Regions from separate parts of the Homo sapiens genome. Here regions 2 and 3 are each linked to region 1. The links are contacts of gene promoters, found by promoter capture Hi-C in blood cells and fetal thymus (Javierre and others, 2016). All regions are on one chromosome and are shown on one strand. Each heading gives the region's core, a stretch centred on a gene start or on the middle of the fragment in contact. The rest is flanking DNA. Distances are from core to core; before and after follow the strand shown. Region 1 holds the start of DYNC1I2 (dynein cytoplasmic 1 intermediate chain 2). Region 2 has its middle 47 kb from the start of RAPGEF4. Region 3 has its middle 17 kb from the start of RAPGEF4.

Evidence for each region. The method cuts DNA at HindIII sites, captures the fragments that hold promoters and counts their contacts. A CHiCAGO score of 5 or more calls a contact.
Region 2: a fragment that was not itself captured here is called in contact with the fragment with the promoter of DYNC1I2 in region 1 in 3 of 17 cell types (naive CD4 T cells, total CD4 T cells and non-activated CD4 T cells); the score reaches 6.5 in naive CD4 T cells.
Region 3: a fragment that was not itself captured here is called in contact with the fragment with the promoter of DYNC1I2 in region 1 in 2 of 17 cell types (naive CD4 T cells and naive CD8 T cells); the score reaches 5.9 in naive CD4 T cells.

What each region holds. Positions count from the first base shown.
Region 1 is chr2:171,685,735-171,690,001 of GRCh38, reverse strand. It overlaps DYNC1I2 (dynein cytoplasmic 1 intermediate chain 2), which reads right to left and starts at 2,533. Exons shown (of 18, transcript NM_001378.3): 1 at 2,375-2,533. RefSeq lists an enhancer at 2,363-2,532. The HindIII fragment of the contact is 4,493 bases long and covers 1-2,685 here.
Region 2 is chr2:172,686,402-172,690,925 of GRCh38, reverse strand. It overlaps a transcript of PDK1 not described here. Among named protein-coding and RNA genes, the nearest start is that of RAPGEF4, 47 kb to the left of the region's middle. The HindIII fragment of the contact is 1,715 bases long and covers 2,150-3,864 here.
Region 3 is chr2:172,716,765-172,720,890 of GRCh38, reverse strand. It overlaps a transcript of PDK1 not described here. Among named protein-coding and RNA genes, the nearest start is that of RAPGEF4, 17 kb to the left of the region's middle. The HindIII fragment of the contact is 6,831 bases long and covers 1-4,126 here.

The sequences.
Region 1 (4,267 bases), core at 1,284-3,783:
GGCAGTAGCTTACTTTGGGAGGCTAAAGTGGGAGAACTGCTTCAGGCCATGAGTTTGAGACCAGCCTGGGCAACAAAGCAAGACCCCATCTCTACAAAAAAAAAAAAAAAAAAAAAAAAGGCAAGAAAAATAAAAAATTAGGCGGCATGGTGGCATGTGCCTGTAGTCCCAACTACTTGGAAGGATTGCTGGAGCCCAGGAAGTCAAGGCTGCAGTGAGCCGTGATCATGCCACTGCACTCCAGCTTGGGCAACAGAGCGTCTCTAAAAAATAAACTTTTAAAAGATAAAATAAAGGAAGCATATATATTATTACTAAGACTTAAAAAATGTATAAACAAATATATATAATAAATATTACCTAGAGCTGAGCATAGTAGCTAGCCCATAGTAAGCACTTTAATGTTCGCATACACAAACTGAACACAATGTCTCAAAGTTTTTGATGACAATATATTAGGTACCCAAGATAAAGGTCAAAACTGGCTCTTAAAACAGAGGACATGGTTTGGCATTTAGAAGCTCTTAAGCTATATGACACAGATCAAAACTATTACCAATTCTATTGCATTCATAGAAACTTGATAAAAAACAATAGGTCAAACTGAACTTTCCTGTAAGTTCTAAAAGTGCTGTAGTAATACTAAAGCAAAACGCAGGAGTTACCATCATTAGCTATCAAATCATATGACTGTATTTCTCCACAATAACACCTTACGTATACCTCTGATGGCACTTTTAGTACAATTATTTGTGGACATACCTGAAATGTTCCCTATTAGATTGTAATGTACTTGAAATCAGGGACTGTTTTTTAGTTATTTTTGTTGCCTTCACAACATCCAGCAGAATGACCTTAACATTACAATTGACACTGGCTAATGAATAATGGATACGGTAGACACAATTACAATCTGAGCTTCAAAAACCAATTGCATAAACACTACTTCAGCTTGAGTTTTAGGAAGAAATAATGAATTAGGATTTTTTTTTTTTAAGTAGCCTAGCAGCTGAGCATAAGGCAGGAGCCAGGAACTCCTTACCTTCTCCACATGATTGACTTATTGCCTAATGATCAATCTCTTTCAATGTCTCTGTACAAGTGAAGTATTAAATGCTTTAGATCAAGAAAACTAGGAGAATAACCTCTGGAAAACTGTATTTCCAGAGGTTAGGGGAAATCTCTTAAAAAGCACAATTGTTAAATCTGAACAAAGGTAAGTCAGTCAAGAGGAGAAATTCACCTACTAAGAAGTGGATAAAGGAAATTTCAGCTACTAAACTCCATTAAGACTGGCAAGCGAATTGATAATTTTCAAGCATACGAAAAGGATGAAAAGTTGACATAGCAGACCTGAAATATATACACAATATCTTCCAAGATTTGTTTGAACAAACTAAAAGCAAGAGACCGTGTTTCTTATTCCACTCTTTCTACACCTCTAAACAGCTCCATACAAACGGCTGGTGAAGAGAACTTCCATACGTAACTGTATGCTACGCTAGGCACATTATATTTTGTTCAACGTCAACTGTAAAACAGATATACCAACACTAATTGATATTAAAATAAGCGCATTTTTAAAGCCCAACAACAAAGTCTTGACCAGCTGAACTACAGCTGACCAATCCTCTCATCCTCACAGAAGCCAGAGCCTTCCTCCATGACCGACATGTTCACGTTCTTAAAACTCAAGAGAAGAGAGTCTCTAGAGTTTTGTGCTAGAACCTCCGTGTTCGGGGGCTTTCCATCACACATAAGGTGAGGGGAGACACTATCAAGGCAAGTAGAGATGGCCTTAATTTGTAAAATGGGGCAAGGCGAAAACGAATCACTTTCTCCCCTGGGGTCACGGCCAAGAGGGCGCGGTCCACGGCAGGGCGTCCGGAAGAAGCCAGTGGGCGCCGGACAAGCCTCAAGGCTCCCCAGGCCGCCTCTGGAGGGTCGAGAAGGGAAAGGAGTGGACTCCTCTCGCCGGGCCGCAATGAGTCACCGCACCCAGGTCTCCCCGCCTTTCCTCCCCAAAGCTGGGCCGGGCGGGGATGTCAGCAGGAACTGCCAAGCCGCCCTTCGAGTTGCGACGTGGAACACAGGCAGGGAGGCCTTGAGGGAAGAACAGTCAACCCACCTGTCAGGTGACTGGATGGGGAAGAGTCCTCCCGCCTGCAACTTCCCGGTAACGTCCCTCGCCTAAGCCCCCAACACCAACTGTAGCCACCACCAGCTCCGCGGCTTTCCAAAGCACACAAAGAGGGATGGGCGGCGGCTGCTACGGCGAGAGCTTAGGGACAAATAGCCTCACCAGAACGAGGTCGCTCCCAGAAATAAAAGGTGGGGCCCTGCTGCGAGGAATTGTAGCCCCTCCGTGACTTACCTGTCGTAAAGCAGAAGCCGGTAGATAAAACAAAGAACCCAGTCAACCCAGGGGCCTTAAGTATTTCCGCTTTGCCAAAAACTGGAAAACTACGCCTAATATTCTCAGGCCAGGAATCCAACTTCCGCCCTCGCCTTACAAACTGACACGATCGAGAAGAACTACAAACCCCGGCAACAAGGAAAACCTGCGTGCGACGAGCAGTGCGTTCTGGGAATTGTGGTCGCTGGGCGTCGCAAGGTGTGCTGGGACATGTAGTGTGTCCCCTCCTTTAGATTTCCCACTCCAAGGCCTTCTTCCGTCGAGAAGCTTCTGTATAAAGTATTCTCGTCTGTTGATCCGTGCCCACAGTGTAGTATGTGTTATAGTGTAAGATCTTTGACCCAATATTGGCGGAATTTTAAGGTCTATTTTCCAGTGGTGAACCTGTGAATCACGCTGCTGCACATTTGGTGAAGACGTGAAGTAGACTGTTTAGGATGTAAAACATTATATATATATATGTACATACATATGTAAGTTTTAGGGAAAGAATGTCTTATATAGGCTTCATGTGGCATCTTAGGCAAAATCTAAATAAAAATATGTCAACTGACATAGCAAATAATTCTTTAGTATTTTGTTGCAGTGTGGTAGCATTTTGGTTTTCTCTCAAACAATTTTAGGAAATAAAGCATTTTGTATTATTGGACTCTCAAACCAAGCTAGAATGTTTTCCACAGTTAGATTTTTAACATACAAAGAAAACAAAAGTTACTGGAACATGAATTTACCTGCAATGTATACATTGACACACCTTTTTAAAGTTTAAATAATTTAAAGCATTATTTGGCAGGAGTTAAAGCTAACACCAAGGTAATATCTTTTCTATGTTCTAGAAAACTGATTGTTCTAGAAGTTCTAGATATTGCCCAAGTCTAGAATGAACCTTTATGATTCAAATTCCAAGTCCTTGGGCTTGTGGTCTTTTTCTTATCTTTCTCTGCCTTATCTGTGGTCTTTTGTGTAGAAAAAAATATTCTAAAAATAAATTTGAGAAAGAAAATCCTTGGCTTTCCACAGCTTTTCCCAATAACCTAACATTCAAAGAGCTTTATAGCTATGTTATTTTTTTACTTCTTTCCTAATAGTTTTCATGTATTAATTTGAAAAAAAATTATTATTGATTGCCTACCATGTGCCAGCAATGGTGATGGGTGTTGTGGTAACAGCTAAAATGGACCAGGCGCAGTGGCTCACACCTGTAATCCCAGCACTTTGGGAGGCCGAGGCAGGCAGATCACCTGAGCTCAGGACTTAGAGACCAGCCTGGGCAACATGGTGAAACCCCGTCTCTACAAAAAATAGAAAAATTAGCAGGGTGTGTGGCATGCGCCTGTAGTCCTAGCTAGTCACGAGGCTGAGGCAGGAGGATGGCTTGCGCCCAGGAGGCGGAGGTTATAGTGAGCTGAGATTACACAATTGCATTCCAGCCTGGGAGACAGAGCAAGACCCTGCCTCAAAAAAAAAAAAAAGAAAAAGAAACAAAAAAAACAAAAAACATAAAAATGCACAAAAATGCACATCCTTCTTCTCAAGGGAGAAAGGACACTCGCTCAACTAAGAATGGATGGTTCCTGACTGATGGTTTAACTTATGATTTTTTTCTCATTACAATGGGCTTATTAGAGTAAAATGCATTTTCAACATATATTTTTGACTTAAAATGGGTTTATCAGGACATAACTCAAGGAGCATCTGTATAATGATGGAATTATATAAGGAAGTCATAGAAACACCTGGAAAAACTTTTCAGGAAACTTTTGGAAGGAGGTGATTCTAGAGCTAAGTCTTTGATTCTCAAAGGTTGAGTAGAAGAAGTTAGCCAAGCAGAGAAGATGCAGAAAGGTGCCT
Region 2 (4,524 bases), core at 1,758-4,257, 1.0 Mb before region 1:
TTGGTTTGCTGTACCCATCAACTCATCATTTACATTAAGGATTTCTCCTATCCCTCCCCCAGCTCCCCACCCCCCCAACAGGCCCCAGTGTGTGATGTTCCCCACCCTGTGTCCAAGTGATCTCATTGTTCAATTCCCATCTATGAGTGAGAACATGCACTGTTTGGTTTTTTGTCCTTGTGACAGTTTGCTGAGAATGATGGTTTCCAGCTTCATCCATGTCCCTGCAAAGGACATGAACTCATCCTTTTTCGTGGCTGCGTAGTATTCCATGGTGTATATGTGCCACATTTTCTTAATCCAGTCTATCATTGATGGACATTTGGGTTGGTTCCAAGTCTTTGCTATTGTGAACAGTGCCGCAGTAAACAAACATGTGCATGTGTCTTTATAGTAGCATGATTTATAACCCTTTGGGTATATACCCAGTAATGGGATTGCTGGGTCAAGTGGTAATTCTAGTTCTAGATCCCTGAGGAATCGCCACACTGTCTTCCACAATGGTTGAACTAATTTACACTCCCACCAACAGTGTAAAAGTGTTCCAATTTCTCTACATTCTCTCCTGCATCTGTTGTTTCCTGACTTTTTGATGATTGCCATTCTAACTGGTGTGAGATGGTATCTCATTGTGGTTTTGATTTGCATTTCTCTGGTGATCAGTGACGATGAGCATTTTTTCATGTGTCTGTTGGCTGCATAGATGTCTTCTTTTGAGAAGTGTCTTTTCATATCCTTTGCCCACTTTTTGATGCGGTTGTTTGTTTTTTTCTTGTAAATTTGTTTGAATTCTTTGTAGATTCTGGATATTAGCCCTTTGTCAGATGGGTAGATTGCAAAAATTTTCTCCCATTCTGTAGGTTGCCTGTTCACTCTGAAGGTAGTTTCTTTTGCTGTGCAGAAGCTCTTTAGTTTAATTAGACCCCATTTCTCTATTTTGGCTTTTGTTGCCATTGCTTTTGGTGTTTTAGACATGAAGTCCTTGCCCATGCCTATGTCCTGAATGGTATTGTCCAGGTTTTCTTCTAGGGTTTTTATGGTTTTAGGTCTAACATTTAAGTCTTTAATCCATCTTGAATTAATTTTTATATAAGTTGTAAGGAAGGGATCCAGTTTCAGCTTTCTACATATGGCTAGCCAGTTTTCCCAGCACCATTTATGAAGTAGAGAATCTTTTGCCCATTTCTTGTTTTTGTCAGGTTTGTCAAAGATCAGAGGGTTGTAGATGTGTGGTATTTTTTCTGAGGCCTCTGTTCTGTTCCATTGGTCTATATCTCTGTTTTGGTACCAGTACCATGCTGTTTTGGTTACTGTGGCCTTGTAGTGTAGTTTGAAATCAGGTAGCATGATCCCTCCAGCTTTGTTCTTTTTGCTTAGGATTGTCTTGGCACTGCAAGGTCTTTTTTGTTTCCATATGAACTTTAAAGTAGTTTTTTCCAATTCTGTGAAGAAAGTCATTGGTAGCTTGATAGGGATGGCATTAAATCTATAAATTACTTTGGGCAATATGGCCATTTTCACGATATTGAGTCTTCCTATCCATGAGCATGGAATATTCTTCCATTTGTTTGTGTCCTGTTTTATTTCCTTGAGCAGTGGTTTGTAGTTCTCCTTGAAGAGGGGACTTGGAGAACTTTTCTTACAAGAGGTTTGTAAAATGCTCCAATCAGTGCTCTGTAAAAATGCACCAATCGGTGCTCTGTAGCTAGCTAGAGGTTTGTAAAATGGACCAATCAGCACACTGTAAAATGGACCAATCGGCACTCTGTAAAATGGACCAATCAGCGCTCTGTAAAATGGACCAATCAGCAGGACATGGGTGGGGACAAATACAGGAATAAAAGCTGGCCACTCTAGCCAGCAGTGGCAACACACTCGGGTCCCTTTCCATGCTGTGGAAGCTTTGTTCTGTCACTCTTCAAAATAAATCTTGCTGCTGCTCACTCTTTGGGTCCGGGCCACCTTTAAGAGCTGTAACACTCACCATGAAGGTCTGTGGCTTCGTTCTTGAAGTCAGCGAGACCATGAACCCACTGGAAGGAACCAACTCTGGACACACCTTCAGCAGAAGATGCTGTGGGGAAGATAGTTGACTGACAGCCTCTGGCTGCCATGTGGGATTCAACAGTGTTCACACTGAGGTCAAGCTTACTCTGGGTTGCACTCAGCCAGTGAATGGCCTAGGTACAGGTGCTAGGGGGAGTGCACTGAGGCTAATTTTCTCCCTATCTTCCTTCCTTCTCTCCTTTCCCAGATATTAGACCTGCAAATGGTCTAAAGACTCTTCTGCCTCTTCCTGCTCCCTCCTCCTTTATCCTTTATAGGCATTTTGAATGCCTCTTGCATATCAAATCCCACGTTGGGGTCTGCTCCTTAGAGGATGCAAACTAACACAAGTGCTACCAAGAGTGGTCCAAGACAACAGTCAGTAAGATGGGGCTTGGGACTGGTTCACACACCACCCAGCTGGCAAGGAGAACACAGTCATGAGGGAAACATCAGGCACAATAATCCCTGGCACAAGGTAGTTAACCTAATTGCTAAGGATTTCAACATTGGTGCTCTGGGATCCCACACAAAGAGCATCTGACCAGGGCTCTTACTACACAGTGCAGGAGGTATGGGAGTGGGATCACACACATCCATCCATACATATCACATACTTCTGGCACAATCCAGAAGGAGCTGCTTCACAAAAGACTGCAACAGCCTACTGAAGGATTAGCTGGAATGCTCAGAGGTCATACTCTGCAAGGATAGGTGCTATCCTGTCCTACATGTTTTAAATAGAGAACTCTATGGCAGTGTGTCCTCTCAAGGAAAAATATATGTGTCTGGAAACCAAGGGTGAAAGCAAAAGTAGTCCCAATTGCCATCATTCTTAATTGACCCACTGTGGGATTATGTGCTTCTTGTCCCCACAATTCTGGACTTTGCAGGGTAGGAGGTCCTTGCTCCCAAAAGGGGATCCCTGTGCAGGGGGACTTGGTAAGGCTTCCACTGAACTGCAATCTATGGCTGCTGCCACCTCACTTGGAAGTCTTTGTGTTCAGTGGGCAGCAGGCAAGAAGAGGAGTCCCCATCTTGTCGGGGCAATTGACTCCCATTAGCAAGAGAAGGTCAGGCTGATTTTACACAATGCAGGCAGAGAGGAATATGTGTGAACCCAAATGATCCACCTGGACACCTCCTGCTATTCTCTTGCCCAGCTGTAACTGTGGACATTTATAGCAACCCCAGCCTGAGAAAGATATGATAAACCAAGCGCTCAGACCCCTCGGAATGAAGGTTTGGGAAACACCACCATGTAATCCACCATGCCTTGATGAGGTGATAGCTGAAGTTGGGGGGTAGGGATTTAGAATGGATAATGGGGAAAAAGAGGATGAGTATGAAGTGTGACCCTGAGACCAATTACAGAAACAGGAGCTATAGTTCATCCTTCTAACTTCCCTCTTCTAATATTCCCAGGAAAACTTGGAGGATGCCCTAAAAATGTAAAAAGATAGGACACATATTCAGAGAAGGATTTGTGATGCATTTAACAACAAAGGAGTATAATCCAGAATATGTTTTTTTAAAAAAAAAAACTTCTTAAATAAATAAATGATAATTTCATAGGAAAATGAGGAAAGACAGGAATTAGTATTTTACAGAGAAGAAACAATATAGACAATAAACATATAAAAAGATATTCAACCTCATTAGTAATTGGCCTGATTCCAATTAAAATCAAATAAAATATATTTGGGAAGGAGGCAGGAAATAGAGTTCATTAAATTGTATGTTTCTCTTTACAACTTCTACATATTACTATATAATATATTGTTAGTTTACATGGGTATTATTGTTTCAAAACAAGCTTAAATACTTCTTATGAATGAGCTCAACCATACAAAAAGTGCTTATATTCCTAAAAATTGTTATATAAAACAGTAGTGCATATGTTATTCTCTTCCTAAAAAATTAGGTGTGATTTTTAAAGATGATATCAAAGACAGATGGTATGTGATTAAGTTCATTTTAGTTGTCTAATAATAGTAATCTTATTTGGATCATGATAGATAGCAGATAGGTAGATATATAGATAGATAGACACATAAATGGATTTAGATCAAGATGTGTCCGGAGTTGGTTCTTTCTGGTGTGTTCCTGGTCTCACCGACTTCAAGAATGAAGCTGCAGACCTTTGCAGTGAATGTTACAGCTCTTAAAGGTGGCACAGCTGATTTATTGTGAGCAGCAGACAGTGAGCAGCAGCAAGATTTATTGTGAAGAGCAAAAGAACAAAGCTTCCACAGCGTAAAAAGTGGCCCAAGCAGGTTGCTGCTGCAGGCTGGGGTGGCCAGCTTTTATTCCCTTATTTGTCCCCGCCCATGTCCTGCTGATTGGTCCATTTTACAGAGTGCTGATTGGTCCATTTTACAGAGCACTGATTGGTCCATTTTACAGTGTGCTGATTGGTCCATTTTACAAACCTCCAGCTAGCTACAGAGCGCTAATTGGTGTTTTTACAGAGCACTG
Region 3 (4,126 bases), core at 654-3,153, 1.0 Mb before region 1:
GGAGGAGGGGAGTGCAGTTGCTGAAGGAAAGTCACAAAGCCCTCCTTAGATGCTTTCTCAAGGAACAAAAGCCTCTAGCCTTGGGGGAAGAACCAGAAACTTCATATCTCCAAGACTAGATGAAAACCCATTACAGCTAGAGAAAGAGAAAACAAAACAAAACAAAACAAAACCTTGTCATTATTGGAAGAGCAAGGAACAGTCCTGGGCTCAGGATCCTACACCATTACTAATAGAAGTCTCCTACTACTGGGCAGGTACAGGGAAGTCCCATAGAAGATTTGCCAAAGATGCAAGGCAGTTTGGCTGCCTTGAAAAGGAGAAGTAGGATCACACAGGAACAAAACAACTGAGCTTGCAATACTGGGTAACAAGCAATAGCAGTCCATTCCTTGGGAAGATAGATCCCTTTTGTGGTGCTACAACACAGGAAAGGCTGAAAGCTGGGGGTAGAGCAGCAACATTGAGAAAATCTCAGCCAGGTGCAGTAGCTCACGCCTGTAAACCCAGAACTTTGGGAGGCCGAGGTGGGCGGATTACTTGAAGTCGGGAATTCAAGACTAGCCTGGCCAACACGGTGAAACCTCGCCTCTACTAAAAATACAAAAATTAGCCCAGTTTGGTGGCGCATGCCTGTAATCCCAGCTATCGGGGAGGCTGAGGCATGAGAATCACTTGAATCCAGGAGGCAGAGGTTGCAGTGAGCTGAGATTGTACCACTGCACACCAGCCTGGGGGACAAAGCAAGACTCTGTCTCAAAAAAAAAAAAAAAAGAGAGAGAGAGAGAGAGAGAAAAGCTCTTTGACACCCAAGCAGCAACAAAACCTGCTCAACTGCTAACTAGATAAACTCAACCCCTATACAAATAGCCTAGCAGAAGAAGAGACATGCTCATTTCCAATCATATATATTGTTTGTTTCAGCCTCTGCTGTCCTGCAAACAATGTCTGGTATTCAGTCAAAAATAATAAGACAATAAGATAGGTAAAGTAACCCACTGTCCTGAGATGAAGTGATCAACAGAACAAAACTCAGAGATGATTCAGATGCTGGAACTATCACACAAGCCATTTGAAATAACCATTAGTAATATGTTAAAGGCTCTAAATGGAGAAGGCAGACAATGTGCATGAACCAATATGGAATTTCAGCAGAGAGATGAAAACTGTAAGAAAACATATATTGGAAACTGGAAATAAACATATATTGGAAACTGGAAATAAACATATATTGGAAACATATATTGGAAATAAACATATATTGGAAACTGGAAATAAACATATATTGGAAACTGGAAATAAAGCAAGATGGGAACAAAGATAAACAAAGATTTCTTATGTATGACACCAAATAAAAACCCACTGAGACATCACTACATACCTAACAGAATGTTTAAACTTAAAAAGACCAGCTGAACCACATGATGACCAGGATGTGGAGCACTGGAACCATCATACATTGCTAATGAAAATATGAAATAATACAGCCACTTCAGAATATAGTTGGTAAGTTTTTTTTAATAAAGCTAAACATACAGTATGATCTAGCTATCCTCTCTTAACCATTTACCAAAGAGAAATAAAAACCTATTTTCAACCAAAAACCTGTACACGACTATTTATAGTGACTATTCATAACCTCCAAATGCTGGAAACAACCCAATTGTCTTTCAGCTGGTGAATGGATAAAGTGTAGTACATCTATGCAATGGAGTACTACTCAGCAGTAAAAGCATGAACTGCTGTCACATGCAGCAACGTGGATAAATCTCTAATGTATTATGCTAAATAAGAGGAAAAAGACTAGAGGAGCTATATAATGATCTAATTTTTAGTACCTTCTAGAAAAGGCCAGATTATAAAGACAGTAAATAGATCAGAGCTTGCTAAGAACTGGGGTAGAGGTTTTGACTAAAAAAAACCAATTTTGGGGGTGATGGAACTGTTCAATATCTTGAATGTAGTGGTAGTTGTACAACTTTATGCTTTTGTCCAAACTCATAGAACTGTACATTTAGAAAGGTGATTTTTAAAATATATAAACATATACTTCACAAAAATAATAAGTAAACACATAAAAAGATAAATAAAGACAGGGACTCTGGCTTCCTGACTTTTTCAATCCTCTATTATATTGCCTTACAAGAAGATGATGCTTATGGTCTATTGTATTTTGGCCCAGAACATCCCCTACCCTTTCCTAGGGCCTTCCCCATGAGACCTTGCCTTATCACCCCAAACGGAATCACTCCAGAAAATACAAACTCACTCAACATATTCTGTTTGCTAAAACAAATTCTATAAGCCTACAATATACTACATCACATTTGATTTAAAGTGTATTTAACATCAAAGACAAATTACTCTGAATGCTATATTAAAAGAACTAACTTTTTCTAAAATATATCTTACAGATCTCAATTTTTGTGAGCCACATCTAATCAATCTCTGATCATTTCAATAACATGCATATTTTTATATCTACATGAAAATGAAAATTGTAACAAAATATGGTTTCATTTTTTATGGAAGTTTTTTACTTTGCCTTCCTTTCATAATTTTGGATTTCCCCAGTTTAGGATGCTAAAGGGCAGTGAGAACATCTCTTCATTTCACTAGCTTCATTATTTCCTTCCATGAGTGTGGAATTTTACCTGTCTCAAACTAACCTGTTACCTAAAACTAAAGGCTGATTTCTCTTTTTAGAAAATACCATTTCAAATGGAATTTTTATGATTACAAATTTTACATTCTTATATTCAAATTTTTCAGCAAATTACATTCCATGTGACAAATTCCTGGTTTCTTCTACTTTTCCATTATGAATCATCTCAAAAAAAGATCAGCAGATTTCATTTACCCTTCCCCAGGAAAAGCAGGACATTCCTCTCTTCAATCTGGTAGCTCTCAGCTCTATTGGAATAACACCCTTTTTATAAAACAAATGTTTTGTAATGTTTCCTTTGCTATCTTAAAATGAAGTGTCTTACACATTACCGGATGTCTAACACCCTTAGCTCCCACCTACTAGAGGCCAGTGAGCTCCATTAATCATTTTGACAACCAAAAAAAGCCCCTCACATAGCTCTAGGTTGTCCTTGGGTAGGAGGAGAGTGGAAACACCACCATCAAGAACTACCAATTTAGGGCATATTTCCTTAATGGCAAAGCAATGTTCTACTTCAAAATACTAATAGGCTTGGAATAAAGAACAATTTATTCGGGAGGTGAGGCAGGAGAATCGCTTGAACCCAGGAGGCAGTGAGCCGACATTACGCCACTGCACTCCAGCCTGGGCAACAGAGCAAGACTCTGTCTCAAAAAAAGAAAATTAGTCCAACTTAATCAGGTATTTTAGTAACAAGTATTTTAGCCAAGGATATAGTTTAAGTAACAGGTTTAATAGGAAGCGTAGTAACTAAAGGTAGTTTATTAGTTTATCTGTTATTACACAACCAATTACCCCAACATTTAGCAGTTTAAAACAACAAGCGTTTATTATTTCACTGTTTCTGAGGGTCAGGAATCTGGAAGCAGTTTAGCCCGGTTGTTCTGGCTCGAGGTCATCCATGAGGTTTCAGTCAAGCCAGGCTGCAGCCATCTCAAGATCCATCTGGAGCTTGAGGCTCTGCTTCACTCACATGCACACAGGTTTAGTTCAGCCATACATGGGTCTCTCACAACATGGTTTCCCCTAGAGTGAGCAATGAGAGAAAAGCCGTAAGCAGTTCTTTGATAATGTAGTCTTGGATGTGAGATACCATCATTTCTGCCATATTCCATTGGCCAACCCTGGTACAATGTAGGAGGGACTCCACAGGCTGTGAATAACAGGAAGTGCAGATCACTGGGTGCCATCTTGGAGGCTGTTTACCCCAGGTAGGAATCTCTACATCTCTAAATAAATACGAGTACTCCAATCCACACTCAGGTTTTAATTTTATTGGACTGTAAGGGATTACTTCACAGAACTGAGAGAAACAGAAAACATTGATGAAGTTTTGTTCCAATTAAATAGAAACTGTTTCTTAGCAACATGAAAATATCATTTTAGTGATCTGAGGCTCAGAATCACAGTTTTTCAATGTCTATTTTTACCTCTGTATTTTAGATTTATTCAACTGCT